Regions from separate parts of the Homo sapiens genome. Here all the other regions are linked to region 4. Evidence: promoter capture Hi-C in 16 types of primary human blood cells and fetal thymus (Javierre and others, 2016). All regions are on one chromosome and are shown on one strand. The core of a region is centred on a gene start or on the middle of the fragment in contact, and the rest is flanking DNA. Distances in the headings are between cores, read along the strand shown. Region 1 overlaps VWF (von Willebrand factor). Region 2 overlaps VWF (von Willebrand factor). Region 3 overlaps VWF (von Willebrand factor). Region 4 holds the start of CD9 (CD9 molecule). Region 5 overlaps LTBR (lymphotoxin beta receptor). Region 6 overlaps VWF (von Willebrand factor). Region 7 overlaps VWF (von Willebrand factor).

Region 1 (3,874 bases), core at 94-2,593, 210 kb before region 4:
GTTCAGTATTCTTTTCACTCCAGCACCCCTGAGGGACAGGAGCCATATCTGATTCATTTCAGTTTCCCCTGTACTTTAAATAAATGCCAAGTCCAGGTAGGGAAGCTGACCTTGGGGAGGGGCTGTCTGCACTAGCAATCCTGCAGTGTTTATAACTGAGAAGACTCTTGGCAACCAATGATTCTACTTGCACTTCAAAATCCTGCTCAGGCATGGACTACACTGTAAGTGTGTGCTAAAGCTTGGTGGAATTTCAAATTCAATGTGACTGGTTACACAGCCCTTTACAGATGCCTATATGTGTCTAACACATTAAAATCGCATTTGTCTGAACTATAGAAATACTAATGGAAAGGACCATGCATTAATTTACATAAAAATTCTACGTGCAGAGTGTATGTGTGTATATATATACATATATATGTGTGTGTGTGTGTGTATATATATATATATACACACACACACATATACATATATGTATATGTATATATATATCTTCCATCTTATTTGATCCTAACTGGAATCCCAGGTCATACGAAATACAGGGATTTTCATCCTTATTAGCCAGATAAAGAATCTGGGGCACAGAGAGGCTGAGCAAGCCCAGTTAGCTGGTCTCCAGGATTTTCAGAGGTAACTTGGAGACTCACCACAGAAATCAGGTGTCCTCCAGTCAACGCAGACCCCGTTGGTCCGACAGAGGTGGGCATAAGAGGCGATCACCTCACACACTTGCTCCTGGTGGCAACTGTCCTGCTGGCAGATGGCATAGAATGTGGCTGGAGCCAGGACCTTGTGGCATTCAGCAAACAGTGGTAAGAGGAGGACCTGGCAGTGGGAGCTGTCGGGGACAAGACACTGCTCCTCCAGGATGGGCTGGCACGTCTGCCCTGGCCGCTGCACAGTCCATTCCTGAACAAGTGTTTTCCAGTCTGTGGTGACTGTGCCATCCCTCAGCATGAAGTCATTGGCTCCGTTCTCATCACAGATCCCTAGAGAAACAAACAAACAAAAAAAAGATAAACTGAGTGGCCCTGGGTACAAAAACATTGATGCCAGAGACAGGCCATTCTTGATCCTCACCAGAATCTGACCCTCGCTACTAGACCCTGAAATATAAGCATCCAAGAGCCTCAGAGTAGAGCAAGTAAGGTTTATAAATGTATAGCAGGGGGAGAAGAGGAGTTGAGAAAATGTTCTTACCACACAGACCATACGTCTTTGAAGCAAAAGTCTTGGGGCTGAGCTGCAGTTGGAACTCATTGTTTTGTGGAGTGAATGTGAAGATGTGACCAAGGTGATTGAATCTGACCTCATGCATGATGGCACCATAAACGTTGACTTCCATGTTCCCACCCACGTAAGGAACAGAGACCAGTCTCCCATTCACCGTCACCTGCACAAAGAAGAAAGAGCTCATCCGTAGTCCTAGCAATGAGGAATCCTAGGTTTTTAGGGAAGTTACCGAGAGTTCCTGCACATTCATCACACTCAACTGCAACATCAGCCACAAACCTTGATATTTGTCGGCAGCTCTTCTAAGATAAAGAAGAGCTTGACTAGAAAACAGAGCTTGACTTTACAGAGCTTGACCAGAAAACAGGCTGTTGTAATACTGTACGGGTGGCCATGCACCAAGAACCTAAAAGCCTGGAGATTAAAAGGAACCTTGAGTCTATGTGACTCAACAGGGAAGGGCAATGCCTTTAAGACAGGCTGGGAAAGTCGCCTTATTGCCAACTCATCAGAGCAGTGTCTCCAAGAGCATCTAGCAGCTGTGTCCAACCCTTTGAATGCAAGGACATTTTTGCTTCTCTGTGGTGGTGGATATCAGAAAATTATGCCCAGACCTTTTTTTTAGCTCATCAGCTATCGTTAGTGTTAATGCATTGTATGTGTGGCCCAAGACAATTCCTCTTCCAGTGTGGCCCAGGGAAGCCAAAAGGTTGGACACTGGTGTTTTAATGGGACCACTTTAAGTCTTCTTTGTGTGTATGTGTGCCACTAGACGCTCTTTCTTGGGCAGCCCCACCATATATCATATCAAACACATTAAAATGTACTCACATTCCACAATGAATATAATTTTGCTGTAAAATTTTTGGAAGGATTTTTTATCATTTTGATTTTTTAATTTTTGGCTATGAGTTACTCACTTGATATATGACTAAGATTTTTCTGCAATTATTGTTCAAATTCAGGAATTCTTGCGAAGTGAGAAAATCTAGCTTACAAGTTGTTTTCACACAATGAAATATTTATGATTTCTACACGAACAAGTAAAGAAGTTGGCATAGTGTAACCTTTTGTAAGCATTTAATCAATCATTTATATATATATATATCAGTTTTGCAGTTTTCTTTTCAAATTTTGGAGCCTGACGTTTTATGTAGGCCTTAAATATTTTCAAAAGACCTAATTTAGGCCATAAATGTTTCCCTTTGGAAAGCTTACAGGGTTTAGGCATTGGACTCATAATACCTTCCGAGTGAACAATCCTGATGCCAATCCCAATTCTCCACCAGTGCCAGAAACTGGCACTAAATTCACAATTTTATGCTATCTAAAAGTGATTCCATCTTGCAAATCTGAGCCCGGAACAACATGAAATCACGCCAAGACAAGGGGATGGCAATAAACCCCTCTAAGAAAGTGGTACTCCTCTCCTCCACTTAAGCAGAAGGCAGAGCTCCTAACAAGAGCATCAACTAAAAGCAACTGCCACCAGGTCCAGGTGGTTTTCCTGACATTCTATTGCCTTACCACGGATCCACAGAAAGTACTTCTCACCTCCATGTCACTGTGCAGCTCGACGGAGAGGGCACTGTGCTTCACCTCGATGGATTTCATGCAGCCCTGCCTTGCTCCAGGGCTGCAGGCACCATTATGGAGAATCACCTCCAGGTCCTGCTCCTTGTTTTGAAATAGGACATAAGAACAGCTGCCAGTCAGCTTGAAATTCTGCCCATCAAAGGTCACGATGTGCCGAGTGGAGCTGCCTGTGCACACGCCTGGACAGAGAGAAGCAGAGGATGGATGCGACGTTATCCAAACCCCCATGCCTACTACATGCAGACAGGCAGGTGTGACCAAGTTGCACACAGATAAATACAGTAGAGAATGGAACAGGCCCTTTGAGGTCATATAGAACAATTTCCTCCTTTTTTTACAGATTAGGAAACTGGGGCTCTGAGAGGTAGAGAGGTTTAGGTAAGTAACACTTGGCCATTAAATATTTTCCTGTTACATAAAATGTGGCAAATTATAGAACCACACTTCTAAAAAATTTAAATGTACAGTGTGAATAATCCATTCTACAGGGATGCCTTGGCCCAGAAAACAAAGTTAAGTTCCAGGGGTGTTATGACTCGTGGAAATTAAGAAAAGCTAAGCAAGCTATGAGCTCATGATCTCATTGTAAAGAAAATTCACCTAAAGACACGTGTCCTTTCAGCTGCCAAGTGACTAAGGTAATGGTACAAGTGACCATGTTGACTTAATCCCTTAAGAGATCGCACAGGAGAAATATTTCCAGAGCCAAAAAAAAAAAAAAAAAAAAAATGGTTGAGTCTCAATGCTCCCTCATTTGACCCTGAGTCATTCACATAATTGGCAAATTCTCAAGATTCCTATTAAAACATTATTGGTGAATACTGATCATTTTGCACCTACATAAGATGATTTGGTAAAAATCCTCACATTGAAGGCACCACCACCATAAATGATTTGAAAGCTAATCTTGGACCTAAGTAAAGTTGGAGATAAGCTTTCCAGACAAACCACGACCACATCTACAATGGCAGGTGAATACATGCCCAAGAGCTGAGACACAGATTCGGTGGAGCAGGGAGGCCCCACTAACATCCCTCACTCA
Region 2 (3,470 bases), core at 735-3,234, 240 kb before region 4:
CTGTCTCAAAAAATAAATAAATAAACATAAAAGATTACTCTTCACTTAGGGGAAGCAGGGAAAGGATTTTTACCTGTTTTCTTTCACTAATTTGATCCCTCTGCTTGGATAAATGATAGTAGATACCATATATGTTGAATGAGTGAATAACTGACTGTAATTCTTAGTTTGTTATCTTGGTCCATTGTTGCCAAGCTTAGATAGGACTAGAGACAGCCTAAGATGAGGAATGTTACCAAAAATAAAGGAGGTGGCTGGGTGCGGTGGCTCACACCTGTAATCCCAGCATTTTGGGAGGCTGAGGTGGGAGGATCGCTTGAGCCCAGGAATTCATGACCAGCCTGGGCAACATAGCAAAACTCCATCTCCACAAAAATTAGTTGGACATGGTGGCACACACCTCTAGTCTCAGCTAGGTGGGAGGCTGAGGTGGGAGAATCACCTGAGCCTAGGAGGCCAAGGCTGTAGTGAGCCATGATTGTGCCACTTCACTCCAGGCCTGGGCGACACAGTGAGATCCTATCTCAAAAAATAAATAAATAAAAAATAAAGGAGGTTATTTGATAATGACAAAAGAATAGATTCATCAAGACATAAGAATGCTTAAGAGGGATGCATCTACAGAACTTCATAATATATGAAGCAAAAATGGATAGAACTAAAGGGAGAAATAGGCTAATCCACAATCTTAGTCAGTGATTTTTATGTTCTCTCAGTAATTGATAAAAACAAGTAGGAAAAAGACAAATGAAGATATAGAGGATTTGGAAAACTGTAAGAACCAATATGACCTAGTTGGAAATAATAAACTATTACATTCCAGAACTGCAGAGCATACATTCTTCTCAAATGCACACAGAATATTCACAAAGACAGACCAAATTGTGGGCCATAAAAATGTAAACATGGATAAACAGAGACTGGATAAAAAAGTAAATAAATGTCAAGATTTTGAAATCTTAGAGATTATATTCTATGACCAATTTCAATATAATGAAATTATATTGAAATTAGCAACAATAAAGTATTGAAAAACACACCACCATATTTGGAAATTAAATAAAATACTTTTAAATAACCCATGGATCAAAAAATAAATATTTTTAACTAGCGGTAATAAAAAACAATATATCAAAATCTGAGGAGTACAGCAAAAACAGTTCTTGAAGGAAAATTTATATTTTAAATTTTGTATTAGAAAATCATGAGCTAAGCTTCCATATTAAGATGCTAGTAAAAGAAGAGCAAATTAGACCCAGTCATTAAATGACAAGACATAATAAAAATAAGGGCAGAAATCAATAAAATAGAAAAGAAAAATATAAAAAGTAAAACAACAAAGGCAAAAGTTGGATCTTTGAAAGATTAATAATATAATAATATATAATATAATAATAATTAATATATAATAGACAAATTAGTCAAAATAAGAAAATCTCTAGCTAGATTAATCAAGAAAATAAAAAGAAACAAATTATCAATATTAGAAATAATAGAAGGTTTACAACTACAGATTCCACAGATATTAAAAGTATAATAAGGAAATGTTATAAACAACTTTGTGTAACTAAATTTGACCAACTTAAATACACGGATAAGTTCCATGAAAAACTGATTTACCAAACTAATTCAAGAAGAAATAGAAAATCCGTTTTTTTATTTTAAAAGTTGAATTTTATATATAAATCTTTTCCACATGAAAAGCTTCAAGTCTAGTAAGCTTCACTGATGAAATCTGCCAAACATTTTAGGAAGAAATAATACCAATTTTATATAAGCTCTTTAGAAAACACCACCATATTTTGTTGGATCTAGCATAACCCTGACATCAAAATCTAACAAAAGCATTAAAGAGAAGAAAATTAGAAACCTAACACTCTTAACATAAACATTAAAATCTTTAACAAAATATGAGCAAATAGATCTAGCACTGGATGTGAAACAGGATAACACGTCATGAAGAAAGGGGATTCATCAAACGAATGAAAGGTTGGCTCACCATTTGAAATCAATCCATGCAATTCCTCATGTTAACAGAATTAAGGGGGAACCATATGGTCATCTTAAAATATACAGCAAAACTGTCTGACAAAATTTAAACCAATTCATTGTAGAAACTCTCAGCACTAAAAAAATAGATGAGAACTTCTTCAATATGCTATAGGACAGGGGGCCCCAGTACCAGTCCGGTCAGTGGCCTGTTAGGAACTGGGCTGCACAGCAGGAGGTGAGCAGTGGGCCAATGAGTGAAGCTTCATCTGTATCTACAGCCACTCCCCATCACTCACATTACCAACTGAGCTCTGCCTCCTGTCAGATCAGCAGCCAGCATTAGATTCTCACAGGAGCCCAAACCCTACCGTGAACTGCACATGTGAGGGATCCAGGTTGCGTGCTCCTTATGGGAATCTAATGCCTGATGATCTGTCACTGTCTCCCATCGCCCCTAGATGGGACTATCTAGCTGCAGGAAAACAAGCTCAGGGCTCCCACTGATTCTACCTTATGGGAGTTATATAATTATTTCATTATATATTACAATACAATAATAATAGAAATAAGGTGCATAATAAACATAATGCATCTGACTCATCCCAAAACAATCCCCCTGACCCTAGTCGATGGAAAAACTGTCTTCCACGAAACTGGTCCCTGGTGCCAAAAAGGTTGGGCACTGCTGCTGTTGAACACACAACTATATCATACTTAATGAATTAATTCCCTCTAAGATCAGAAAGAAAATATTCCCATCAGTTCTATTCAATATTGTACTGATTATATTAGCCAGTTTGATAACAAGAAAAACAAAACAGAATGTATAAAGATTTCAAAGGAAGAAGTAAAAGCTGTCTTTATTTGAAGGTGTCATAACTGCTTATGAAGAAAATCCTTAGGAATCTGCCCCCTCAAAAAAAAAAAAAAAACACTATTACTACAACTAATAAGTGAATTTAGCAAGGCTGAAGAATACAAGATCAAAATATAAAAACTGATTTTATAAAAGCAACAAACAAAACATAAAATTTAAAAAAAACTTCCATTTGCAATATCGTCCAAAAACTTTAAATACTAGGTAATAAGTGTAACAAAATTTGTGCATCTACACAAAAAAAATCATTGCAGAGAAAAATTAAAGGAGACTGCTAAGATGTGAATGTGTGTGTCCCTACAAAATTCCTATGTTGGGATTTAAACTCCCAACTGATGATATTAAGAGATGGGGCCTAAGTGATTTAAGTCATGAGGGCTCCACTCTCCTGAGTGAATTTGTGCTGTTATTTAAAAAAAAAAAAAGTCAAAGGGAATGCCCTAGTGCCTTTTGCCTTTCCACCTTCTGCCACATGTGGATGCCATGAGAAAGCACTGCCTATGAGGAACAGGCCATCATCAGACATCAAATCTGCTGGTACCTCAATCTTGAACCTCCAGAACAGTGAAAAAATTAATTTCTGTTCTTTACAAATTACCCA
Region 3 (4,003 bases), core at 757-3,256, 180 kb before region 4:
TCTCCAATTCCAATAGGGAACACTGTCACTCCTAGAGTTAGCAAAGAGACAAGAAAGGATCTGTGGGCAAGAAGGCTCAAAATGGACTGGCCTGACGTTATATCCAGCATCTGAATACAGCCTCATGTTTTCCAGGCTGGTCACATACATCAGCCCTATGAGGAAGATGTTCAGTCAACAGATATTAATGAGCTGCTACTCTGTGTCAGGTACTATTGTAAGCAATAGGGGTACAGCAGTGAACCAAGCACATAAAGTCCCTCCCTGTCCCCCGTCCTCATGGAGAGATAGACAACAAACACACAAACAAAGTAAATATATAGAATTTCAGATGTGGATAAATGCTTAGGAAAAAAACAAAATGAGATAAGGGGGATGAGAATGCCCAGGGCTGAGGTGTGGGTTATCGTTGCATATATGGCAGTTGGAGAAGCATTTGGTGAAAAGATGGCATCTGAGCAGAAACCTGATGTAAGGATGGAAGGAGCCAAGAGGATGTCTGAGGGAGGGACATCCCAAGCAGAGAGAAGAGTGAGTGCAAAGGCCCCAGAGCAGAAATGTGACTGCATGCTCCCGGGGGCTGGGGAGAGAGGGACAAGCAAGAGAGGGAAAGGGCATGGATCAGGCAATGCTCCATTGGCCACAGTAAGGGCTCACCATGTTCTGTGAATGAAACAAAGCCAGCCAAGACTACAGAGCAGAGGGACAGGAGCTGATTTTGATATTAAAGGGCCACTGCAGCTGCTGTGCTGAGAATGATCTGCAGGGGACAAAGGTGGAAGCTGGGGTTCCAGTTAGACAGCTATTTCAATAGTCCAGGTGAGAGATGATGGGGACTCGGATTGAGGTGACCCTAGTGGACATGGTGTGGGGAGGTGTGACTCTCGAAGTATTTTGAAGATGGAGCTATAGTTTGTTCGTGGCTTGCATGGAGGTATCAGGGAAAAGGAAGAAGAATCAAGGATGCTGAGCTTTTTGAACTGAACAACTGGAAGGTTGGAATTGCCATTTTCTAAGATAAGAAAGACAGATGTGAAAATCAGGAGTTTAGTTTTGCCTATTAGAGCATGCAAACTGAGTTGAGGTGAGGCTGGAGATACGAATTTCAAAGTCAAAGATGTATAAATGTATTTAGACCCATGACACTGAACTAGACCACCAAGGGGGTATATGTAAGAAGAGAAGAGAAAATATCACAGGGCTGAGCCCAGAGAATGTGCATGCTCATTTACACATGAGAAACCGAGGCTTTGGACGGTTAAATGACTTGCTCTGGATCATATCTGCTTCAAGACCACAACTGCTTTCTTTCCCAGTGAAAATCTTTCTTTGGATTCTTGATACTGAAGGAGAAAAAATCTCCATCCTGAAATTCCTCAATTCAGCTCTCCAGAAAGTTCTAGGAATTTGCAATGTGCTTCAGGTTGGAACGGATTTTCTATTAGCAGCTTTTCAGCTCTTGTAAGTTCGTTATATTATCCAAATATATATCCTTTCCCTTTTAGTGTCCTTTACCCTAAAATCATAGATTTCATAAACATGTCACATTCATTCACTCAACAAACGTTAAATGGTCACCTATTTTGTGCATCATACACAGATGATACAAAAATAAGCAAGATCTTCCCTTGCCTTCAAAGAACTCCCAGTTTTTTGCAAGGAATAGATATGTTACAAATACAATACAATACAATACGATTTGCACATTTTGAGTAGCTCATATGTGACATAGAGAACGGAGCAAATAACTTCCTCAGGAAGAACATCAGGAAGACAGCAGAGAAAAGACAGGGTTCTGACAGCACTCCTAGGCAGGGTTCTGAAAGATGAACAGTTCTCCAGGTGGCCACGAGGGGACTCAATGTCACTCCACTCACCCAGACCTTCTTCAGCTGGGAGGTGGTCCCTAGACTCTACCACCTGTCCCAGCTCACATCCTGTTGATATTAAGAACATGATAAGCACATGTTCTTATGGAGCACAAGGCTGGACATCTGGATCCTTCCCTTTCCTACAGCATGATCCTTTGTCTCTCATCCATCAACCCTGCCAAGCCCATTACCTGGTACCAGGAAAGGACTCTAAATACATGAAAGCCCCCATTGGTTCTCAAGGCCCTACAATGAATCACTCTGGCCTCAGACATGACATTTTAGTAAGAGACCACGAATCCTACTTTAGAAAGAAAGGGCATAGAGGTATGATCACTCCTGGACACAAAGGGAAAATGTGGAGAAATTAAAGATTATAATTAGTTATAAAGATATAGGATCAATACACACTTTTTATTGTTTGGTTTCCTAATCACATCGTGGTTGGATAATTTCCTGCTGTTTGAAACCAGGACAGAGGTTGGTATTGAGCATATTTAATATCAGCCACAACATCCAAAAGTAACCCCAGCCCACTTTTAATCCTCTATCATTTCTGAAGTCTCGCTCTCCTGAATTGAGGACTGTACACCAGATTCTTACTGTTGGACCTGGCGGCATCAGCTGCTGCATCCACTGAATCCACAGAGACGTCCGTGACCAGGATGACCACCGCCTTTGAGGCTCCCGGCCTGGCACCATGCATTTCTGAAGTCAAGTATCGCACAGCAAAGCCCAAGGCATCCCCTGAGGATGGAGAACAGATCACGCCAAGTCAGTACTGACTGCGGCTCGACACCCTGTCTTAACGGTGGATCCTTAAGTCACTTAAAAGCTGAATGATTCAGAAACTCCAAGGAACACCCAGTTGAGATCTGGAGAGACGTGGAAGAGCATCTAGCCCCTCACTTTCCAGGAGAAGAAACTAAGGCCAAGGAGCAAAGTGACTGGCCGAGGTCACACAGTCACTTATGCCAAAAATAAGAACCAGAATGCAGCTTCTGCATCCAGCCTGTGGCACCAACGTTACCGATTTGGCTGGGGCCTCCCTCCCGCTGCATGACGTCCACAAGGCTCAGCAAATGGGCTTTCTCCGGGACCACGTTCCATGGCACGTCAATGGTGGTGATGCTTCCATACTGCAGCACTGACACCTGAGTGAGACGAGGCCCTAAACGGAACGAGAAAATGCGGATTATTTTGAATCAAGTAGAGCCACAAAAAGAGCCTCTTCGTCACCTGCTGCTTCAGGTGCCTCGCTCACCCACCTATATTGGCTTTTGAAATGAAAGCCTTGGCGAAACTCTTCATTTCATCAAAATAAGAAGCTGGGAAACTGGAGGAGCCATCCAGGAGAAGGATCACGTCCAGGGGCTGGCTGCAGTCTGCAAAGACAACCAGGAAGGTGAGCACACAGGTGCCAGCAGGGACAATGGCCACCAGGCCTACAACCTGACATCCAATAGGATCTGCAGGGCGTGCTGACCACGTGGCACCACCAAGGGGGGCGGGGGGTGCCTTCGTGAGTACAAGGGCAATGTGGGCCAGGGAGGAGGGGATGGGGAGATGGAGTTCCTGGGTCCGGACTACCTCAGATTTAGAGACACTGAGAAGACTCCAATTCTACCCAAAGGAAGTTTAAATGTCTACAAATAAAAGCAGCAGGCATAGGCTTCCTCGGTAAGAAGGGGCCACCATTCTTCTAGAAATGAGTAAAATACTGGCCTGGCAATACAAGGAGACTGCAAAAGGAAATGGAGCGGCAGCCCCTCCCTGGACAATGAGCTGCTGTGTCCTCAGATCTTGCAGGGCAGGTGAACATACTGTGATTCTTCCAGCTATAAATGCCTAGTGCTCCTGTTAGTGTCTGAGCACATCTGAGATTTGATGAAATGATGTAATTGTTGTTTTCCTCAGCAGAAATATTACAAGAATTTAAATAAATCTATGGCCGTGAATAAAAACAAAAACAAAGAAACAAAAGTACTGACAAGTGTGTGACTCAAAAGATACTAAAAGAAGGCTTATTATTCTGGGATGGTCCCAAACACACCGAATAAAGATGTTCAGGAACTAGGAATGGATTAGACGCCAGTGTCAGTAAAAGGTAGTAGTAACAGCAGTGGGAGCAA
Region 4 (3,961 bases), core at 1,280-3,779:
AGATAGATGGACGCAGGCCCAAAAGGGCACAATGGAACACTGACTGTTTTCCGGCCTCCTTCCCACCCTCCAGGGTGCTTCACACTCCTCCCCTGTGCTGGAATCATCCTGGACACTGGTTAGGATGTGTAAAGTCAAGCATCACCAAAATTCCTCTGCTTGTCCTCTTGGCATTAGGCTCAGTTTAGGCCCTGCCTCTCCTTCCTTGTCCTCCTTCCTCCCCATGTACCACTATCGGTTGTTTCCCCAGTGCAGCCAGCTGCCCGCTTCTGTGTCTTTGCATATCCAGTTCCCTCTTGGAATTCCCTCCTCCGCATTGACTACTGACTCCACCTTCCCAAGTCAAGTCAGCTGCTGCAATGTCCCCTGCTCTGGGGAGCCTCTCGGACTCAGATTGACGTGGGGATGTGCCCTGTGCCCCTACTTGTTACTAGCTTCTGCTGCTCTGCCTCTGATCTCTCCCTCCCCTTCCCGGCCTGACACCTCATGGGGTTTTGCCCTGCCTTCTCTAGGCTTTATCCCATTGCCCCGCCTTCATTCATTCTTCTCTCACCTGAACTACTCCACAGCCTCCTAGCAGATTTGCACCTGGTCCTCAGCTCAACTTTCATCTACCACTGCTCCCCTCATATTACCTGATTGCGTCTCCCCAAATACAACATCTCCATGTTCCATGCAATCCCGTAAAGCACTGAGCCAAGGACTGGAGATGCCAACAATGGTCCTGGTCCTCAAGGGGCTTCCTACCTGCCCCTCCGGCCTTCCCCCACCCAACTACCTAAAACACAGGCAGAGAACCTCTGAAAACACAGCAGATCCAACCATTCCCCTGCTTGAACCTTTCGGTGGCCCCTAATGCTCAGAGTGCAAAGTCCAGGAGCACAAGGCTCTTTCTCACCTTCCCACAAACTACCCCGTGACTCCAGGCTCCAGCCCAGAGCCCGGACAGCCCCTGCCCCAGCCTTTGCCCAGGATTCTCCCTTGGCGGCAACTTTCCCTGTGGTTCTGCAGCATCATCTCCCAGTCTGGGTCAGAGGCCTCTCCTTAGCCTCTTAGCCCCCAAGCCTCTCCCCGTAACTGCACCTATCACCCTCAAACCATTGTCTGGCTGCCTGTCTCCTCCCACACTGGTCCCTGAGCAGAAACAAGGACTAATCCATGTTTTTCAGCTCCTACCCCTAATGAAATACCCTAATAGATACTGAAAAATGTTTTTGAACCAATGAGACAAGTCTACTGATAATAAACAGGCAAATAACAGCAATGTGCTAACAGTGGCTGTTTCTGGTGAGCAGAATTTTGAGGTCTGTTCCTTTCACTTCTTGGTATTTCGGTTGTTTCTGTAATGACTGTATCTTGCTTTTGTAATCATAAAGGACAGTAAAGGAAACTTCATTTTGAAAATAATACAAAGGGATTCGGGGACTTCAAAAGAAGGTGACTCTCCTCGTCCACTCCAGAGAATCAGGAAAGGAGTGTTTAAAGACCCACAGAATTCCTACAAGTGACGTTGGGGGGGGGCCAGCCAGCCAGGGCGCATGCCGGCCAGCGAGTGGGGTGGGCTCTGGGTCCGGGAGAAGTCAGATCAGTGCTCTGTACAGGGCCTTGAGGGCAAGACGAGGAATTTCGACTTAGGTCCTTGAATCTGGAGAGCTACAGAAAGTTTGTGAGCTCAGGAGAAGCGCTCCGAGCTCGGCATCTGGAGCAGTTCAAGGCAGCAGCGAGCAAGTCCAAAGACGCAGGAGGGAGGGTGGGGTGGAGGAGTAGAGAGAAAACAGAAGCCGTCTACAGACCCTTTTTCCCTCTGGGGCAACTAAACCTCAAGTGCAGGAAGCGCTTGGGGACTGCCCAGCCCTCAGCTGTGTTATTATTCGGTGATAGGTATTTGCTAATTACTTCCAAAAGCCTCCCATCTGTCATCCCACCCAGACTGCGCGCTTCTAATTCCTCCTACCCCACATGCTGTGCCCAATGAAAAGTATGGTCAGCGAGCGAAGGTTTGCAAGGAGACAGACGAGGGCGAAATTAAGCCAGGCGGCTTCCCTTTAAATCCTCGCAAAGCAGAAGGGCCCCTCACTCTGGCAGCAGGCCTTGGCCAAGGGGCCTTTAGCCCTGACGACCCGGGGAAGAGTCTCCCAAAGCAGAACGCCCGGTCCGGCGCCCAGACCAAACGCGGGGGAACCGGAAGGGCGAGGCCTCCACGTAAGTCCGCGGTAAAAGTGGCAGGGAGTGGCTGCCTGCAAAGACCCCAAGACGGCTTGAAGAAGGAGTGGGTGGCGGGTGGGGGTTAGGGCGACTAGGCGGGGAAACAGGGAGAGGGTCGGGCTCCGCGGGGCAGCTGGGGCCGGGGCTCGCCGACCTGGGCGGGGGCGGGGGGCGGGGGGGGTGCGGCCCGGGCGGGGCCGGTGGGGCGGGAGGCGTGGCCGGCGGGGGGAGTGGGGGCGGCTTTTCCCGGCACATGCGCACCGCAGCGGGTCGCGCGCCCTAAGGAGTGGCACTTTTTAAAAGTGCAGCCGGAGACCAGCCTACAGCCGCCTGCATCTGTATCCAGCGCCAGGTCCCGCCAGTCCCAGCTGCGCGCGCCCCCCAGTCCCGCACCCGTTCGGCCCAGGCTAAGTTAGCCCTCACCATGCCGGTCAAAGGAGGCACCAAGTGCATCAAATACCTGCTGTTCGGATTTAACTTCATCTTCTGGGTGAGTGAGCGCGACTGCCGCGCGCTCCTCTCAGGGCCCACCTGTTCGCGGGCCCCGGACACTGGCCGCGGCCGCGAGTGCCGGCAGCTGGCACTGCCCGCACCGGGCAGGCACCGGGCGGGAAGAGAGAGCGCCCTGCGGCTGCCAGCTGGCTCCAAGGCCGGGTCCAGAGCCGGGCGGGACGGCCGCGACGGGCGCATTCGGGTGGGGGCTCATCACCGCCCAGCCGGCGTGGGGAGCCGGGCCCTCTTGAGATGAGGCGTGCGGGAGGGTCCTGAGCACTTTAGCTCGCCTAGGATTTGAGCTGGGGTGTGTGTCTGCTCCCAGCTCAAGTCCCTCCGAGTGCCAGAGAGGAAGGCAGGGAGAAGCGGAGCACCCCTCTTTGGGCCAAGGCCAAGGAGGACTGTGGTGAGCAGTATGGCTTGTGACCGGGTGGGGTCTCCCAGGTAGTAGGGGGCGCCAGGAAGGGAGGGTGCGGGCACGGCGAGAGCTCAGCCAAGAGCGGCTCTCACTTTTACGCAGGAGCGGCAGGGGTGCCTCGGCCGCGGGTCCGGCCCCGGGACCCAGTCCCTGAGAGTCGGGGGCCCCTCCACCCTTGAGGAGGAACCTCGCAGGCCCCCGTTCCCTCAGACTTTGATTCTGAGCCACCGTGAGAGCGCCGAACTCCCTGGTAGCTCCCTGAAAGACTAGCTTGTCTTGATTTCTTTCAAGGACGATAAGTATCTTCACTGGAGAGAACTCAGAGTTCGGGAGAGGAGGGGGCAGATACCTATCTGCGCCTCTAGTGGGATGAGTCCTGTGTGTGCATTTCCGGGAGAGATCAGGTGCCAGCCAGCTGCCCGCCCAGGAGAGCCTTGGCCTTGCCCTCTCCCCTCCCCGCCAGCCCAGGCGGCCCACCCAAGGCCAGGCAGGGCGCAGAGCGGACGTTCATCTGGAGAGGCCAGCGGGGCCAGGAGCTCCAGAGACACCTGCTGCAGGCCACTCAGCCTCTACAAATGGGAAGGCTGAGAGGCGACAGAAGCAAGGAATAGGAAACCCTTGTGTCCTTGTTTCTATAGCCACATTCCCTGCACACACATGACAATACTTGCCGCTCTGCAGGCAGGAAGAGAGTCTCTATGCCACTCTCAAGATAGATGGATGTAGAAACAGGTGCATGCCACCAGAGTCTTGTAACAAAAAAGTGCACTTGGCCAGGCACAGTGGCTCATGCCTGTAATCCCAGCACTTTGGGAGGCTGAGGCAGGAGGATCGCTTTCATCCAGG
Region 5 (3,866 bases), core at 1,141-3,640, 190 kb after region 4:
TGAAATAAAAAGACCAAAACAGAGGCAGACAGAGACTCCGCTGCCAGTCAGTGTCACAACTAGAGAAGAGGGAAGAGACTGGAAAACCCAGAAGCAGAGAAATGAACACAGAAGCTCAATAAACCAGCAGCAAGCAGGAGAGGGGCGGGGCCAGGGGAAAGGCGAGAAGAAGGCAAGAATTCAAGAAGCAGCGGGCCTGAACTGGGGGCCTTCCTTCCTCAACACTCTGCCTCCCTTCCTACAGGTACCAATGGCATTCATGTCACCGGCGGGTCTATGACTATCACTGGCAACATCTACATCTACAATGGACCAGTACTGGGGGGACCACCGGGTCCTGGAGACCTCCCAGCTACCCCCGAACCTCCATACCCCATTCCCGAAGAGGGGGACCCTGGCCCTCCCGGGCTCTCTACACCCCACCAGGAAGATGGCAAGGCTTGGCACCTAGCGGAGACAGAGCACTGTGGTGCCACACCCTCTAACAGGGGCCCAAGGAACCAATTTATCACCCATGACTGACTGAGTCTGAGAAAAGGCAGAAGAAGGGGGGCACAAGGGCACCTTCTCCCTTGAGGCTGCCCTGCCCACGTGGGATTCACAGGGGCCTGAGTAGGGCCCGGGGAAGCAGAGCCCTAAGGGATTAAGGCTCAGACACCTCTGAGAGCAGGTGGGCACTGGCTGGGTACGGTGCCCTCCACAGGACTCTCCCTACTGCCTGAGCAAACCTGAGGCCTCCCGGCAGACCCACCCACCCCCTGGGGCTGCTCAGCCTCAGGCACGGACAGGGCACATGATACCAACTGCTGCCCACTACGGCACGCCGCACCGGAGCACGGCACCGAGGGAGCCGCCACACGGTCACCTGCAAGGACGTCACGGGCCCCTCTAAAGGATTCGTGGTGCTCATCCCCAAGCTTCAGAGACCCTTTGGGGTTCCACACTTCACGTGGACTGAGGTAGACCCTGCATGAAGATGAAATTATAGGGAGGACGCTCCTTCCCTCCCCTCCTAGAGGAGAGGAAAGGGAGTCATTAACAACTAGGGGGTTGGGTAGGATTCCTAGGTATGGGGAAGAGTTTTGGAAGGGGAGGAAAATGGCAAGTGTATTTATATTGTAACCACATGCAAATAAAAAGAATGGGACCTAGATAATTTATTTTCTTGGGATTTATACAGAAACACTATTCCATGGAGACAATCTCAAAGACAAAGGTCAAGACACTAAAATATAATCCCATAAAGATATTTCAGTGAGGAGCTGGTGAGTATAGTCCAGGTAATAACAGTCTCGTCAGTGATGGCTGACAACGTGCCAGGCAGTGTTCTCAATGCTTTACAGTACTAACTTACTTAATCTTCACAATAACTCCCTAAGGTAGATATGATTCCCATTTAACAAATGAGGAAACTGAGGCACAGAGCGGTAACTTTCCCAATTCAGCTGCAAATGACAAAGCTGGGATTTGCACCTAGTTCGTCTGGCTTTTAGAGGCCTCTTGGGGAAAAAAAAGCCTTCATATACCACGCCCTTCCAGAATTTCTTTGAACGGGTAGAATGGTCTGGCCTTCTCAAATAATCAGATCTCTTGCATGTTCCGCAGGTGTTACTTTTCAGTCAACTCTCAAACATCTAGCCACACGCGAAGTGAAAAATGTTCTCCAAGGTTGATTGAAGGGAAATGTGTGCAATTTTTTTTTTTTTTTTTGAGACAGGATCTAATTCTGTCACTCAGGCTGTTGTGCAGTGGCACTATTATGGCTCATGGCAACCTTGAACTCCTGGCTCAAGGGATCCGCCCACCTCAGCCTCCCAAGTAGCTGGGGCTATAGGTGTGTGCCACGACGCCCAGCTAATTTTTTGTATTTTTAGTAGAGATCAGGTCTCCCTGTGTTGCCCAGGCTGGTCTCGAACTCCTGGGCTCAAGCAATCCTCCTGCCTTGGCCTCTGAACATGCAGTGATTACAGGCGTGAGAGCCACCGTGCCTGACCTGAGGTGTGCACTTTAGACATAAAATGAGAGAGGCCAAGTTCACATTTTGTTGGTGAACAGAAATCTAGGCTGGCCTCCTTTTGGTTCAGAAAGAGTATTTATGATTTTTACTTTTTTGGTTTCTTTTTGTCTTCTTTTATTTTTACCCCCAAAAAGGACTTTAAATCTTCTCAAGCCCTCTTATTAGTAAATGTTTGCCCCTCCCTGCCCCTGAATTCTCTCCTGTGCTCGGTCGAGAGGATCTTAGCTTGCAGGATTGTTAGGGAGCTGCTGCCAGCCGGCTGCTCCTTCCATAAAAGGCCACTCTCATGGGTCTGATATGAGGAACTCTGTCGCTGGAGCTCATCAGGGTGGGGCGGCTGCAAAACACACACCTCAGAAGGCGTCTGATCCAATGGAGTGGATGGGTCATTTAAGGTTGACTGTGAAAATATCACATCCAACTTCCTTTTTTGAAAAGTAAATAATGGTGAGCTGTATCTTTAAATAAAGTTAAATCCTCCTGCCCCTGCAATATGCTGGGGCCAGACCTCATGAATTCTTAATAATTGTTCTAATGTGTTTAGATAAAAAACAAATTTTATACATTTTTTTCAACAAAATAAAAGGAGGAAAATATTTTGAAAGAAATGATGCTGAAGCACAGCCCTTTGTGACACCATTCAAATTTATAATTATACCTGCCTGTATTTTTTTAGAGACAGGGTCTTACTGTGTCGCCCTGGCTTGAGTGCAGTGGTATAATCGTGGCTCATATAGCCTCAGCTCCTAGACTCAAATGATCTTCCTACCTCAGCCTCCCACGTAGCTAGAGCTACAGATGCGTGCCACCACACCTGGCTAATTTTTTTTTAATTTCTTTTTTAAGAAGTGGGGTCTTGCTATGTTGTCCAGGCTGGTCTCAAACTCCTGGGATCAAGTGATCCTCCCACCTCAGCCTCCCAAAGAGCTGAGATTGCAGGCATGAGCCACTGCACCTGGGCTGCCTAAATTAATTTTCTAGGGCCGCCATAACAAAGTACTGCAGACTCGATAGCTTAAGCTGCAGAGATTTATCTTCTCACAGCTCTGGAGGCTGGAAGTCAGAGGTCAACGTGTTGGCAAGGTTGGTGTCCTCTGAGGCCTCTGTCCTTGGCCTGCTAATGGTGGCCTTCCTGCCACCTATGTCTTCACATGGTCTTGCCTTTGTGCATGAGTGTGTCCTAATCTTCTCTTAGTGGATTAGGGCCCATCCTGATGACCTCATTTTAACTTAGTCACCTCTTTAAAGCCCCTGTCTCCAAATAAGGCCCCATTCTGAGGTCCTGGGAGTTAGGGCTTCAGCACGTGGATTTTGGAGGGAGACACAGTTCCACCCACAGCATTACCCATGTCTATTTTGCCAGTGTGGAGTCAGTACAGGCTCCAGGACACATCCACAGAGCACAGGCCACGTAGAGGGGAGCTCCTGTCTACAAGGAAAAGCTGGCAGAAAACCAACAAAGACAGCCTCTTGATGGTGGTCTTCAAAAGATGCAACAGGATGCAATGGCAGTTGACAATGGGGTAACTGTTGGTTGTGAGAACCCTAATCCTCTACCACAGGGAGGAGAAAGCTAACACCAAGTCCAACCCACATCAACACGGGGGTGGGACACCCGTTAGGGGGCCAAGGCTGTAGTCCAGAAGAAAGGTGGATGGAACTGGGGACAGAGCAGTAGCACAGGGAGATGGGGGAGGATGGGGTAATTCAGAATTTCCCTTTTTGAGAGTGGCATCAACACAATGTCAAAGTAGGAGTTCTCCGGCTTCTCTCCTCCCCAACAGAATTTCAACTAGCAACAATCCTGTGGCAAGTTTACCACCCTGAATATCCCAGAACTTGGAGTGAA
Region 6 (3,534 bases), core at 686-3,185, 170 kb before region 4:
ACCCGGGAGGCGGAGGCTGCAGTGAGCCGAGATCGCACCACTGCACTCCAGCCTGGTGACAGAGCGAGACTCCATCTCAAAAAAAAAAAAGAAAAGAAAAGAAAAAAGAGGCCGGGCATGGTGGCCCACGCCTGTAATCCCAGCACTTTGGGAGGCTGAGGCGGGCGGATCACGAGGTCAGGAGATCGAGACCAGCCTGGTTAACACGGTGAAACCCCGTCTCTACTAAAATACAAAAAATTAGCCGGGCGTGGTGGCGGGCGCCTGTAGTCCCAGCTACTAGGGAGGCCGAGGCAGGAGAATGGCATGAATCGAGGAGGCGGAGCTTGCAGTGAGCCGAGATCGCACCACTGCACTCCAGCCTGGGTGACAGAGCGAGACTCTGTCTCAAAAAAAAAAAGAAAAAATAAAAACAAGGTGTGAATCTTGATTCTGCCACTTATTGGTAACACTGAGCAAACCACTTACCTTTCTGACACACACACCCACACACACACATACACCCAAATACACACAGGCACATGCATACACTCAAACACACATATACATACATCTATGTACTCATACACACACTCACACACGTGCTCACACATACACAGATGCACACACATACACCCATGTACTCATACACACACACACGCATACACATACATACACACACGTAGCCATACACACACACGCGCTCACGCATACACACACATACACCCATGTACTCATACACAGTCACACACACGCACATGCATACACCCACACACACGCACATGCATACACCCACACAGACATGCTCATGCATACACACATGCACACATACATGCATACATATGTCCATACAACACACACAATCTGACCTCTAAGATTCCATTCAACTTAATGGAATTGTCAGGTTAAATGGCTTTGTGTTAGGTCGATGCATGGCGAAGGTTAAAAGAGGAAACAAGGGTGTAGGTGTTTTATTTGTCCTTATCTTCAGCTGAGATTTCTGAAAGAGGGAGTTAGGTCTTGATGATACTCCCCAAAGGAGGATGGCAGAAAGGGGAGGGGCCCCAGGACAATGCATCAGAAGACAACAGAACCAGCTGTAGGAAAGGAAAACAAGCCACACACAAGGGGCACCGTTTGGAGGGGGAGTCTTTAAAACTGGTCCACTTGGGAAAGCTGGCCTGGGCAGGGAAGGGCTGGGAGCAGCAGATGCTGACCAGCTGTCTGGTCCTTGCTGCACTGAATTAATTTTTTCCTGGATGTTCAGATTTGAAATGGGCTGGGCAGTTGTTCTGCAAAGCTGGTGTCGCCCTCTCTTTTGCTGCTGAGGCTGGGAAACTTCCATATAGAATCTCTGGGAAAGCTCTAAAGGGGCGCATATCCCCCCGGATCATAGGTTCCCTGCCTGGTCTGCATGCCCTGTGTCCCCAGCACACTGCCTGCCTCTCTGGGCCAGCCCGGGTGTGAGGTGGGGACTGAGGAGGCTGCTGTTGGCTCCGCCCCATGCCCAGCATGCTCTACACGAGTGGTCGGTCCACAGTCACCCACGCTGCCTGACTCACCAGCTCCTGCAACTCAGCCTCTGGGGCTGGGGCTCCTATGGGTTTGTGGTCTTCCATTCAGACCACACCAAGCTCCCGCCCCTCCTCCTCCTGGGAATGGAGACAGAGGGACCATATTTGTTCAAAGCTTCACAGAGTACAGTGCCTCAGCTCTGGTGAGAAAAGCACTCATACTTCCTTGCTTACACAGTTGATGTCAACCAGAAAGAGAAACTTACAAGAATCCACGCAGTGGGGAGTGGGAGGCAGAGGGGCTGCTGCCCACACTCACCGTGAGGATTCCTGGATCGCTCTCATCTGCTGGGCAGGATGACTTTCCTGTGTCCCATCCTCCCACTCCTCCCATTCTGAATTGTACCAAGTTAGACATTAAAATGGCGGAGAATTCCACAAAGCCATATCGTGGGAAGCAAACTCCAGGGGTCATTTCAACCATCCCCCTGTCCAGGGCCACTGCACAACACCTGCAGACTGTGCACTGCCCAGGGTGCTGGAAGGGAGGCTGAGCGGGACTGACTTCCCAGCCCAACCCACTCCCTAAGCTATGCACCCTGACTGAGGCTGTGTCTACCAGAAGGAACAGATGACTTTTTCTAATTCCACATCTGTGCTAATGTGGACTAGCAGTAGCCTTTCTCCCACACCAATCCTCAACAACAAACAAGCTTCTGTCTCGTTTTATAAGTCCCCAGGTGAGCAGAGGGAAAATGGACAACCACTTTGAGCTTCAAATCCCCTACCGCTTCAGGCACTTCTGTGAAGGACTGGGAAGTACTCCAGTAGAAACCAGACCCCAGAGTTGTTTCTGCAGACAGATCCACAGAACCCAACCTGAGGCCACACCTCCCACCCCTCCTAGAAAGAAACAGCACCCTCTCCCCATCTCCCCACCTCTCACCTGCACCAGAACGTACTGGCACTCCCCGGGGAACAGGTATTTGAGCCCGTCGAAGGTGAGGTAGTGGGCCATGCCGATCGTGGAGCACGTGGCATCACACACATGGTCTGTGCAGTTCCACTTCCGGTCCTGACAGACACTAGGAGCAGTCATGGCAGAGATGACAAGTTGGGCACCTTGGGTTTGAGGGGCCCATCTGGGCCATGGAGGCAATGAAGGAACACAGAATACTCTGGGTGCCTCCCAACCCTCCAGGAAGCCCAAGGAAGTTGAGGACCTGTAGCGTGGAGTGTGGACTTCATAGGCCCAGTATGGTGCCCAGCAGGAGACAGGGAAGCCTAGTGGCTGTCCCTAAAAGGGGGAAACTGAGGCAAAGAAGGGAAGGGGTTGTCCAAAGTGAGCCAGGCAGCCAGGGAGGAGGCCCGGATGCTCTTTAGGCCTCCTGTTATGAATTCGCTCAGCCTCACCCTGAAAGCCACATCTACCTGAGATTGGCCACAGGGTGTCTGTAAAACAGACACACTGATGTTGAAAGCCTGAGGCTAATGGGAAAAACAAGACAGAACAGTGGGAAAGCCCAGAGTATAGAAAAGAGTGATGAAGTACGCACTTCTGCCAGGAGCAGTCCTGTGTGCATAGCTACACGTTAAGATGTATGTAGCTACATGTTAAAATCTATAGTGATCTGCCCACTGCCACGTGTCCCTCCCTGCCACCACCCGTAACCAGAGCTGACATCAAGAAGCCCACTTGTGCGTCAGAGGTGGTAAGCTCAGACCTCAAGCCCAAGAGACAGCCCTCTCTACCTCTGTCCAGTAGGCCTCTTTCCAAGGCTGTGCACAGCCACCAAGTCAAAGGCAGGGTGAATGAGCAGGGTGAGGGGTTACGTGCAGGATGGCCAAGGAAAAGGGAGAAGGCAACCAGCCACCCTCACCTCAAACCACGCCACTGCAAGCACACTCACGAAGTGCTCATGGGCAGTGTAAGGCCTGCAACGAAAGGACCCTCCAGACCCCGTGCCCACTGGCAGCTTGGCCCAAATGCAATGACTGGTGGGGCGAGGTCCCTGTCTTCCCTGGGGCCCATCTCCCTGAA
Region 7 (3,882 bases), core at 35-2,534, 220 kb before region 4:
TCAACAGTCTATGTGGAAACACCAGAGTAAACTGAAACAAGGACGATCCTAGAAAATTCAGAGCATACATTTGTTCTAGGGACAGGCGAAGGTGATACATGAGGGTGGAAGAAAAAGGAAAACTTCAAGTTCTCTTTTCTAGGCATTTAGTCCTCCCCATGTCTCTGCTCAAACCTACTCCACCAGTACTTTAGACTTAAGGCCATACAACAGACGTGACCATTAGCCAAGGACTGAACTGCAGAAGGATGACGCAGAAATCCTTTGCTCATGCTTTTTCTTCTTACCCAGCCCTAACCCCCTCCCTCTTCCTCACCCCTAGCCTTGAACCAGAGGTCACTAAAGAACCTTTCTTGCCCTTCCTCGTGAACCCGGGAGGCAGAGCTTGCAGTGAGCCGAGATTGTGCCACTGCACTCCAGCCTGGGCGACAGAGCGAGTCTCCATTTCAAAAAAAAAAGAACCTTTCTTACCCTTCCTAAGATGCCCTCCTCTACTTTCCCGCTCTGATAGCTGCAGGCATGCCCAGCCCCTGCCCCACTCACCGACCGACAGCTGTCCTCACAGGGCTTCTGGGAGCACTGGGCCACGCGGAGGCCCATCACGGCATCCTCCATGTCGGTGCAGGTGCACACATCGCAGCCCTCCTCCCAGAACTGGCCCACAGGGTAGATGGTGCTTCGGTGGACACACACCTGTAGACATAAGTTTTCGTGAGTGAACTCATTTGTTTCATTGAAACAAGCGGTGAGTTAGCACCTACTACACAGAAGCCGCTCTAAGTGCTGAGAATGTGGCAATAAATAAAACCAAATGTGGTCTCCGCCCATATGCAGGGCTGCTTATAAAGCAGATTTCGTCCTCCTCCTTTCCCTGCCCACCAGCCTTAGAAAAGCTATGACCAGTCTCTCAGGGGTGGCCCCTCGTGAGGCCTTCATGGTCCCACAGACTTGAATACAACACACTGGCTGCCTTGGTCTCCCTTCTTCCTGCCTTAACTGCACTTCACTCCTTCCTATGTCACCGAGAAGCTGTACCCACATGCCCAGACCCAGTAATGTCCTTGGACTTGGAGCCCATCCTCATCGAGCCCTCTGCCCACTTACGAGCAAATTGGGCAGGGGCTATGAATGCATGTCCCCTTGCCCACGAGTGACTAGGAACATAACAAGTAAAGACTCTGGGACACAGAGCAGGGGATATGTTTGAGAGACAAGGGATCCTATTGGGAAGAACAATAGGCTCTGGTAGAGATGTGGGAAAACAGATGAAAAAGGCTGGTTGAAAGGGAAACGTGGAAAGTCTGGGATGCACGCCACAGACAATGCTCGGACATCCTTTTGTTGGAATGAGGAGCTAAGGAAGCTGTTTGATCACGGGACTTAATGACAGTTTTGAAATTAATCCCAAGTATGCCCTCCAAAGTTATGCAAAACGGGTCTCCACCCTGTGAATGTCATAATAGCAGTTCAAACATTTTGAAACCATTATCATTTATCTTCTCAGTCTTCTAGCTTCTGTATAATGAACTTATTGAATGAGACCCCTTGTTCTATTAAAAGGCCTGCAGGAAAATGTTACCATCCCTATGGAGAAGAATTGTTTAGCAATACTTAGCAAAAGTAAATGTGTATTTATAATTTGACCCAGAATCTCACTTCCAGGAATCTATCCCAAAGACACACTGGCAAGACCACAAAATGACAGATGCACACGGCTGTTTGTTACTGCAATTTGTAATAGCAAAAGGCTGAAGCAACTCAAATGTCCACCAATAAGGGACTTGTTGAAACAAAACTATGGTGCTGCCATGCAATGGAGTACTATGCAGCTATAAGAAAGAATAAGGCAGATCTCTACACACTGATACAGAATAATCTCCATCAAATATTGTTAAATGAGAAAGAACAATTTAAAATATAATTCATAATATGCTTCCTTTCTATGAGAAATGGGAAGAAATATACATGTATAAAATTCAGTTATATTTTCAAAAAGAGAAAAACTAATAAAAATTATAAAGGCTGGGCACGGTGGCTGATGTCTGTAATCTCAGCACTTTGGGAGGCTGAGGCGGGCAGATTGGTTGAGTTCAGAAGCTCCAGACCGGCATGGGTAACATGATGAAACCTTGTCTCTACAAAAACATACAAAAATTAGCCGGATGTGGTGGCATATGTCTGTAGTTCCAGCTACTCAGGAGGCTGAGGGGGAGGATCGTCTGAGCCTAGGGGGTGGAGGCTGAAGTTAGTTGAGGTCGCATAACTGCACTTGTGCCTGGGTGACAGAGCAAGACCCTATCTCTCTCTCTATATATATATATTATATATTATATATATTCACATATATAAATTATAGGGTGGAGGAAGGAATAAGGTAGAGAAAACACAGAGTAAGACTCCTGGGAATATGTCTTGTTTTATAATTTGGGGTTTAAAATCATTTAAGTGTTTTACACCATAGTAATTTTAAAATTTAAAAGAAATAAAAAGCAATCCCTAAAAATGGAAAACAAATTGAAATATTAACTAGATATCGTCAGTGGCACATAATTATTATTTATAATAATTATATGATATATTACATCATAATATAATTATAATAGTTATTTCAAATGACTTCAAAACCTAGTATTTACACAAATATCCCCCAATGAGGTTTTTTTTTTAGGACTAGAAGAACTGAAAGGAAATTTTATGTATTTATTTATTTTTTGAGACAAAGTCTCACTCTGTAGCCCAGGCCAGAGTGCAATGGCACAATCTCGGCTCACTGCAACCTCCACCTCCCGGATTCAAGTGATTCTCCTGCTTCAGCCTACAGAGTAGCTGGAATTACAGGTGCACACCACCACACCCAACTAATTTTTTGTATTTTTTAGTAGAGATGGGGTTTCACCATGTTGGCCAGCTGGTCTTGAACTCCCAACTTCAGGTAACCCGCCCACCTTGGCCTCCCAAAGTGCTAGGATTACAGGTTAGTTTTGAAACTATTACAGGTATATTGCAAGATAAAGCAAATAAGTAGTTAATTATGTTAGGAAACCAGAATTTTCAACTTAGAAGAGAAATGATACAAGCAAAAAATCAAGGAAGTAAAGTCCTGTAATTTCATTTGAATCAGAAATACCACTACAAATTTACGAGTTTTTATCCTCTCTTAAAATATGCATTTCTAAGCTCTGTTCACCAAAAAGGTCTGAAGGCAATGGCAACCCAGAGCCATAAATATTCTTGGCACCCAGATCATACCGCCTAAATACCACTTTCACTAAAAGGTAGGGGGACTTTTGTCAAAATGGCAGATCCAAGGACTAGGGCAGGAAATGCCCAGGGTGAGCCCAGCACGCCTTATTGTTTCAGAAAGCAAGAAAGCTACGAAAGACTCATGAGGCCATGCCAACAGGCTCCAGAGCCAACTTAAAAGAGCCCCCATTTACCCCAGGGAGGACAACTTGAATATCAAAAAAAAATAAAGTTTACAATGAATCAACACACATCAAACACATAAGAATCCATGAGTTCATAATGAAGCTAAAAACAAAAAACCTCTTTCGCTGTCCTTGACAGTTGCTAGAGCATCAACTCATGGCTATGAAAACTGGAAAAGAAAAAATCAAGCACTTATTCTACTTTGTCTAAAGTAATTTTATTTCAGGGTAACTGAAAGCAGTTGGGAGAAAGTTCTTTCTTACGGGAGAATTCCAGTTAATAAATGCAATCAGTATGATAGAAGTAGAGAAAAGTCACAATTTTGAAACTCCTAATGACATAATAAATCTTAGACAACAAACACTTATAAATAGTAAAACTATAAATTGTTGATGGGGTAAACTTCACAATGCAGAAATAGGTTGCTTCATCTGAACACATAATCAGTCCTAT

Evidence for each region. Contacts are between HindIII fragments. The CHiCAGO score rates a contact against its expected background, and 5 or more counts as called.
Region 1: a contact is called between a fragment that was not itself captured here and the fragment with the promoter of CD9 in region 4, in 6 of 17 cell types (neutrophils, M0 macrophages, monocytes and 3 more). The highest score is 10.0, in neutrophils.
Region 2: a fragment that was not itself captured here is called in contact with the fragment with the promoter of CD9 in region 4 in 1 of 17 cell types (endothelial precursors); the score reaches 5.2 in endothelial precursors.
Region 3: a fragment that was not itself captured here is called in contact with the fragment with the promoter of CD9 in region 4 in 1 of 17 cell types (neutrophils); the score reaches 5.3 in neutrophils.
Region 5: a contact is called between a fragment that was not itself captured here and the fragment with the promoter of CD9 in region 4, in 1 of 17 cell types (neutrophils). The highest score is 5.1, in neutrophils.
Region 6: a fragment that was not itself captured here is called in contact with the fragment with the promoter of CD9 in region 4 in 5 of 17 cell types (neutrophils, M0 macrophages, non-activated CD4 T cells and 2 more); the score reaches 8.5 in neutrophils.
Region 7: a fragment that was not itself captured here is called in contact with the fragment with the promoter of CD9 in region 4 in 2 of 17 cell types (neutrophils and monocytes); the score reaches 7.6 in neutrophils.

The regions. Positions count from the first base shown.
Region 1 is chr12:5,993,212-5,997,085 of GRCh38, forward strand. It overlaps VWF (von Willebrand factor), which reads right to left. Exons shown (of 52, transcript NM_000552.5): 35 at 2,791-3,011; 36 at 1,204-1,396; 37 at 651-992. Among named protein-coding and RNA genes, the nearest start is that of SNORA120, 45 kb to the right of the region's middle. RefSeq lists a silencer at 3,252-3,546. The HindIII fragment of the contact is 2,208 bases long and covers 240-2,447 here.
Region 2 is chr12:5,958,682-5,962,151 of GRCh38, forward strand. All of the region lies in intron 47 of VWF (von Willebrand factor), which reads right to left. Among named protein-coding and RNA genes, the nearest start is that of ANO2, 15 kb to the left of the region's middle. The HindIII fragment of the contact is 532 bases long and covers 1,719-2,250 here.
Region 3 is chr12:6,013,615-6,017,617 of GRCh38, forward strand. It overlaps VWF (von Willebrand factor), which reads right to left. Exons shown (of 52, transcript NM_000552.5): 29 at 3,140-3,256; 30 at 2,902-3,042; 31 at 2,475-2,618; 32 at 1-31. Among named protein-coding and RNA genes, the nearest start is that of SNORA120, 25 kb to the right of the region's middle. The HindIII fragment of the contact is 4,695 bases long and covers 1-4,003 here.
Region 4 is chr12:6,197,871-6,201,831 of GRCh38, forward strand. It overlaps CD9 (CD9 molecule), which reads left to right and starts at 2,530. Exons shown (of 8, transcript NM_001769.4): 1 at 2,530-2,695. The coding sequence starts at 2,630. RefSeq lists enhancers at 1,402-2,014, 2,015-2,626, 3,853-3,961. The HindIII fragment of the contact is 13,626 bases long and covers 1-3,961 here.
Region 5 is chr12:6,390,416-6,394,281 of GRCh38, forward strand. LTBR (lymphotoxin beta receptor) reads left to right here. Exons shown (of 10, transcript NM_002342.3): 10 at 245-1,151. The coding sequence ends at 522. Among named protein-coding and RNA genes, the nearest start is that of LTBR, 8.2 kb to the left of the region's middle. RefSeq lists an enhancer at 246-1,058. The HindIII fragment of the contact is 2,950 bases long and covers 916-3,865 here.
Region 6 is chr12:6,032,249-6,035,782 of GRCh38, forward strand. VWF (von Willebrand factor) reads right to left here. Exons shown (of 52, transcript NM_000552.5): 20 at 2,440-2,578. Among named protein-coding and RNA genes, the nearest start is that of SNORA120, 6.2 kb to the right of the region's middle. The HindIII fragment of the contact is 538 bases long and covers 1,667-2,204 here.
Region 7 is chr12:5,975,568-5,979,449 of GRCh38, forward strand. VWF (von Willebrand factor) reads right to left here. Exons shown (of 52, transcript NM_000552.5): 43 at 544-693. Among named protein-coding and RNA genes, the nearest start is that of ANO2, 32 kb to the left of the region's middle. The HindIII fragment of the contact is 9,174 bases long and covers 1-3,882 here.